Linked DNA regions of Homo sapiens: region 1 is linked to region 2. Evidence: promoter capture Hi-C in 16 types of primary human blood cells and fetal thymus (Javierre and others, 2016). All regions are on one chromosome and are shown on one strand. Each heading gives the region's core, a stretch centred on a gene start or on the middle of the fragment in contact. The rest is flanking DNA. Distances are from core to core; before and after follow the strand shown. Region 1 has its middle 1.8 kb from the start of TSPAN6. Region 2 holds the start of TIMM8A (translocase of inner mitochondrial membrane 8A).

What was found. The method cuts DNA at HindIII sites, captures the fragments that hold promoters and counts their contacts. A CHiCAGO score of 5 or more calls a contact.
Region 1: a contact is called between a fragment that was not itself captured here and the fragment with the promoter of TIMM8A in region 2, in 3 of 17 cell types (fetal thymus, non-activated CD4 T cells and naive CD8 T cells). The highest score is 6.9, in fetal thymus.

The regions. Positions count from the first base shown.
Region 1 is chrX:100,637,089-100,640,218 of GRCh38, reverse strand. It overlaps a transcript of TSPAN6 not described here. Among named protein-coding and RNA genes, the nearest start is that of TSPAN6, 1.8 kb to the right of the region's middle. The HindIII fragment of the contact is 1,323 bases long and covers 1,012-2,334 here.
Region 2 is chrX:101,347,270-101,350,768 of GRCh38, reverse strand. It overlaps TIMM8A (translocase of inner mitochondrial membrane 8A), which reads left to right and starts at 2,027. Exons shown (of 2, transcript NM_004085.4): 1 at 2,027-2,236. The coding sequence starts at 2,105. It overlaps BTK (Bruton tyrosine kinase), which reads left to right. Exons shown (of 19, transcript NM_000061.3): 19 at 813-1,319. The coding sequence ends at 884. RefSeq lists an enhancer at 2,056-2,105. The HindIII fragment of the contact is 777 bases long and covers 1,315-2,091 here.

The DNA.
Region 1 (3,130 bases), core at 424-2,923, 710 kb after region 2:
TTATTATAGTGTGATACTGGGATGGCTTAGACATTTAATTTTTTATTTAATTTCAACAATCAATCCTGAGTAATTACTATGTGGTTGCTCCCAGAGACCAGTTATGACCTCAATGAGCAATCAGCTCAACAGGGATTGGCCGAGCAGAAAATGAACTCATCAATTGGGCATTATGTCCTAGGGTACTGAGGAGAGTATAAAAGGGGGCATAGGGGCCCTGCCACACTAGCTCTTCAGTAGTTTCTGAACATCTAGACGGTAGGATGTAGAATAGGTAAGTAGAAATGCAAAGCAGATATTGCAGTAATTGACTAAAGGGCTGGGTTAATGGGAGTGAGTGTGTAGTTAAGACAGTTATGGTGTTAGAGAAAGAGGTGAGGAAGGAGGGACTTTTTACTGAGTTGGGATTGAACTGGATATTCAGTAGAAGCAGAAAGTATGAGTGAAGTTGAGGGTGGGCAGGGACTAGGGAATAGGACTTGTTTAATTGGGGGGTTGATCATACTGACCTGGTACAGAGCAGAAAATTCACATTGGAAAAGCAGTAGGAAATCAGTTGAGATTGTATTGGGATGAGGGGCTTGGTAGGGATGGAGGGAGGCTGGAGGTGGCACAAGGGAGGTCTGACTTAACAGTGAGCCCTTGTTTATGTCATTTCCCTTGCCTGATGTCTAGCAATGAAAAACATTTACACCTAATCTTGAAGGTTACAGGAAATTAATTGGGAAGGGGGGCTACTAAATGTTCCATGTAAAACAAGCAGTAACAATACTTAAAGTATTTTCCTTTTTTCCTACATTGTTGGCATCAAATTGTGTTTCTGTGCTCAGAAAGAGGGAGAAATTAAGAGGTTGAACAAGAAAAAGTACTGAACTCTCTGCCTTACCACTCTGGGGCAGGTAGGGTTACTTCCTAGGTGGCTGGGCTATTGGAGTGAAGGCAAAAGCCAAACTCAACCAAAAAACCCCAAGTGCAAGGCAGAATTGGGGCAATCATTGAGGTTCTTAAGCTTCAGAGGCTCCGAGGAGTCCTTGTTTTAGGTTAAATGTCTGTGCAACAGCAGTCTTTACTCAGGTTACTCTGCGCAGAGGCAGCTGTACGTACAACAGCAGCTATGTTTCATCACAAAGTGGGCCCCATTTCTGATGAAAGACACAGAAGTTGCCCAGGTTTAGTCCTAGGCAGCTTACTTGGTCTCTTTCAACCTGTTTCTTCATCTGTAAAATGAAGGTGCTAGGTGTGTCAACCTCATAATAGGGTTCTTGTGATGTGTGCATACGAGGTAATGTGTATCAAGCTCTTAGCAATAGTGGTTGGTATACAGTCAATACTTATTATCACAGTCATTATTAATACTTTAAAGAATACATTTATCTAGTGGCCTAGGGAAATACTTCTTAAATTGCCTTAAACGGGATTAGATGCCCCTTTGGTCTGGGTTTGTACCCAAACCCAGGCCTAGGTTTGAACTAAATTGAATTTCTCGGTTTGGTGGCATTGTGGGGGTGGGGAGATGGAAGTGGGTGTAGCAGAGTAGGAGGCAATGGTGCAAGGTGTTGTAGCCATAGGAATATGAATTTCCATGTCAGCATTTGGTTTAATTTGGCACCGAGTGTTATTCAAACAAAGCAGCGTTGTGAGTGGTAGAGGAAGGGAGAGGAGGAAAGTCAACACATTCTTGGAAATAAGATGTGGCTTTTGCTTTGCTATTTTGTTTTTTCTTCAGCTACAGACATATTTCTTTGCTCTTGGGCTCACACTGTAAATCCCTTTCAGTACATATCTAAGTTTCAGAGAAACTTCTCTTTAAGATGACAAGAAGTTATCAAGACTTCCCTTGATCCTTGTTTTTAGTATAAGAACCCTTCAGTTGGGGTCATTTAGCCTAGGGAGAAATCTTTGCATATACTTAGACACCCCCCTCCACCATGTTGAATATTTGGTATTTCCTAACGACTTTACCTCAAAGTGTTTGAAGGTGTATGTAGATGTATCGTTTATCCATTCTCTCCATGTATTTGTGTATTAGGCCTTTCAAATTTTAGTAAAAATTTTAGTATAAAGCCTGGCAATGCAATAATTAATTTTCCAACAGTTGCTGCCTTGCACCTCAGACGTCTGGCAAGATGTTATAGGAACTGGTCCTAGGTCAATATTCGAAGCACAGGGAAGCTCTGTGTGACCAAGTCAATGGAACTTTCCTGTGTTCTGGTCCTGAGGTGTATGTTTAAAGCAACGTTTCAAGCAGAAAAGTTTGAGTATTCATCTCTCCTCCACAAATGCAGGTCTTTTTGCAATGGCAATAGAGTAAATAGCCACTTGTGATATTAAGCTTGTGTCAATGATGAAGGGTTGGATTGCATAGGGAACTGATACAGCCTTCTAACCCCGTTCCTCTAGAGATAACACAAACTCACTTAACACTCAGTCTCTGCCTTCAAAGAGCTGACGCTTTAGTTGAGAAATCAGACCTTAACGCACCTCCTGTGTTGTAACAACATAGACCAATATATTCACAATATATAACATTAGGTTTTAATCTCTCTGTAATCAGCTGGGTTTTGATGGGAAAAACCAGGTGGCTGGAATGTACAGTGCCTTTCTGTTTTAACATTTAAGAGGAGGTCACACTCACCAGGGATTTTTCCATTGCACTCTCTCTTTTTAAAAGTTTACAGCGAATAGCTGAACTTACATTTCACTATTATGTAAAAATACTTTCCCTCAACTTTCCAATTACTTAGGGGATAAAAAAGGAGAGGAATACTGGGGTTTTGCAAAGTCCTGCAGGTAAATTCTAAAGTCATTATTATCTTTAATACCTAGCTTAGAAATTCTTTCAACAAGTGGTGATTATTTTCCTCCATTCACATCTCCCCTTCCTAACCCATAAAACAATGTTCACAAATTGAAAAGCACACAAGTGAGAAAAAAATCAGCCTAATTCCACCAGAGGTAAATTTCACTGTTCCTTTCAGTTTTTGTCTAAGCACACGTGACTGTATGTATTGCTTTGCAATCCGCTTTCTTTTTGCAAATATATTTCTTGTGGGTATTTTCCCATGTATTTTCTTAGGTCGCTTTTAACCTCTTCATTCTTTTCCTTCTCTCTAGGGCACCAGGGGCCAGG
Region 2 (3,499 bases), core at 778-3,277:
ATCAAAAAGAACCTTAGTCGTAGGCCGGGCGCGGTGGCTCACGCCTGTAATCCCAGCACTTTGGGAGGCTGAGGCGGGGGAATTACCTTAGGTCAGGAATTCGAGACTAGTCTGACCAACATGGTGAAACCCGGTCTATACTAAAAATACGAAAATTAGCTGGGCGTGATGGCGTGCACCTGTAATCCCAGCTACCTGGGAGGCTGAGGCAGGAAAATCGCTTGAACCTGGGAGGTGGCAGTGAGCTGAGCTCACACCACTGCACTCCAGCCTGGACAACAGGGTGAGACTCTGTCTCAAAAAGAAAAAAAAAAAAAAACCTTAGTCTTTTTGTTACCAGTGGTAAAAAAAAAAAAAAAAAAAAAAAGGTCCCAGGTACTCAGAATCCCTGCTCAGTAATACAGCCTGTGGTTTTGAAATATTAATCACTAAAAATTATCACATGGGATTTCTGTTCTGCCAACCACTTGAACTTGTTTGGTAGCCATTTTTCACTTGAGGATCCAAAATAAGAATGTGTTGTATACAGTTACATAATGAACTTGCCCTCAATTTTGATCAGTGTGATTGTCAGTTTAATTTGCAAATTGTTCTTATCACACTAATAACCTGAGTTACTAAAGATGAAAAGTGCACAAAGACTTTATGGAGAGCTGCTATTTCTTTTTTTTTTTTTTTTCCTTTTGTAATCGACAGGGCATGCTACTGGGCATAGAGCATATATTTAATAAACATTTGCTGCTTACTCATTGCATTTCCCTTGAATTCTGGATTCTAGCCACTCTAACACTTTACTTTTTCTTTGGTTTTAGAAAGCAGATGAGCGTCCCACTTTCAAAATTCTTCTGAGCAATATTCTAGATGTCATGGATGAAGAATCCTGAGCTCGCCAATAAGCTTCTTGGTTCTACTTCTCTTCTCCACAAGCCCCAATTTCACTTTCTCAGAGGAAATCCCAAGCTTAGGAGCCCTGGAGCCTTTGTGCTCCCACTCAATACAAAAAGGCCCCTCTCTACATCTGGGAATGCACCTCTTCTTTGATTCCCTGGGATAGTGGCTTCTGAGCAAAGGCCAAGAAATTATTGTGCCTGAAATTTCCCGAGAGAATTAAGACAGACTGAATTTGCGATGAAAATATTTTTTAGGAGGGAGGATGTAAATAGCCGCACAAAGGGGTCCAACAGCTCTTTGAGTAGGCATTTGGTAGAGCTTGGGGGTGTGTGTGTGGGGGTGGACCGAATTTGGCAAGAATGAAATGGTGTCATAAAGATGGGAGGGGAGGGTGTTTTGATAAAATAAAATTACTAGAAAGCTTGAAAGTCTTTGGTATCTCTATTAATCATGCAGCCTCCCTGAAGCGCCCTATCTCAGTATTCCAGAAAGCTGCTGTGTAGCATTAGTTTGGCATATTCCTACACTGAGAACTCGACAGGATCCTCCAGGTTTAAGCCCTCTTGTTAACTCCTGCCTCTGAATCAAAGATGCATTAAGCAAAAACAGTGCCTGTCACAGCACGCATGCAATGTTATTTGAATGAATCTGAAAGTTGGGCACAAACTGCCATAGCCTCATTTCCCTACGTCGGGAGAGGAAAACTCCATCAAAAAACGAAAGCCAGGGGCCCAGGATAGCCAACTAATCGACCCAGTCAACTAACTGACCCAGTGCACAACTCTGGTAGCTCAGAAAACGCGGGCTAATTTGGAAGTGGACAGGGGCGGAGCTGTGGGGCCAGCACGGAATGGATCACGTGGTCTGAAGTAACTTCCTTTTCTCCTTTCTTTTCTTTTTGGAGTAACATCTCAACGGCACCTCGGCTCTGGGCTGTAAGCCCTGCGATCTCAAGGCGCAAGGCTGGGCGCAACGGCAGGGTTGCGGGGTTACGGGATTGCGGGGTCCGGGGAGTGGAACCCGCCGACTCCGGGAACGAAGCACCGGCGCCAAGGTGTGGGAGGCGGCGGGGTGGAGTTGGACGCCTGCCTCGCGCCGACGCAGTGCACTCACGGGGGCGGTCCCAGAGGCAGCTAGCTGTGGTTCCGGTTCCGTCGCGGAGACACGTGAAGGTCGGTGCGGAGTTCGTCTCTGCAAGCTTGGTCGCCCTGGGATGGATTCCTCCTCCTCTTCCTCCGCGGCGGGTTTGGGTGCAGTGGACCCGCAGTTGCAGCATTTCATCGAGGTAGAGACTCAAAAGCAGCGCTTCCAGCAGCTGGTGCACCAGATGACTGAACTTTGTTGGGTGAGGAGCCTGGGGCTGGGACCTGAACACTGTACCTACTTTCCCTCTGTCCTTGTACCGCGGGACTCGCGACAACGTCGGGGATTCGGGGTGGGGGGCGGGCACCTGGCAGCAACCCTTGATTTTCTCAGGTTCCTGTGGCCTAGCCGGATGGGAGAAGGGTGACTCCGCTTCTCTGGGGACTGTCATTCCGGACCTCGGCTTTGTTGGTGTAGAGGACTGGGTATCAAAGAAGACTTATGCCACTGGACACCCAGCACTTTCAGGCACCCGAGGTTGAAGCTGCCTAGTGCTGGTCACCAAGACTGATCGGAGCCCCCAGTACTGGGATTTTATTTTTGGCAGCCCGAGTCCCAGAGAGTCAGTGAATCAGTGAATCTGCTATTCCTGGACTCCTCGGGATTTACCTTCATTACCCAGTTCTAACCCTCTCCGCTGAAAAATGAGTGGCTCCAGCCCAGTAACTATAAAAGTGGTGTAATCTCTTCCAACGTACATACTTATTTGCTTTCTTGTTGGATTGTTGTGTAATACCAAGCCGTTTTGGGTCTGAAGGTTGAGGAATTGAGCCTGCCCTGTGAGGGGACTTTGGCAAAAGGGTGGAAGGTATTTGCAGCTTGCCAACAACGTGTTCTGCTTGCCAAGGACAGATCTCCCTTAATGTACACAATTCACAGAATTCAGAGGCCAAGGATAATTTTCCTTGGAATTAGAGGGTCTGAGGCTTGTGTACATGGCAGAGAATAATGAACGAAATTTTTGAACCACTTAACTTGAACTATATACAGTCATTGGTTTCCATAGGCCCTTTCCCATAAACTTACAGTATTGCTGGACTATGACACCTACCAGATGCTTACTTAACTCTGGTCTGCCTTGGACCAGAGTGCTTTGATTCTTTTTTAAAAATATCTGTGATTCGTTACTTTGGGGCTAGGAGGGCGTGTGGTTAAGTACTATTGCAAGAATCTGTAAGCTGCCCGGCGCGGTGGCTCATGCCTGTAATCCCAGCACTTTGGGAGGCGGGTGGATCACTTGAGGTCAGGAGTTCGAGACCAGTCTGGGCAACACGGCGAAGCCCTGTCTCTACTAAAAATAGAAAAAATTAGCTGGGCGGGGTGGCACCCGCCTGTAATCCCAGCTACTCAGGAAGCTGAGGCACGAGAATGGCTTGAACCTGGCGGAGGTTACAGTGAGATCATGCCACTGCACTCCAGCCTGGGTGACAGAGCCAGACTCTGTCTCAAAAAAAAAAAAGAAAAG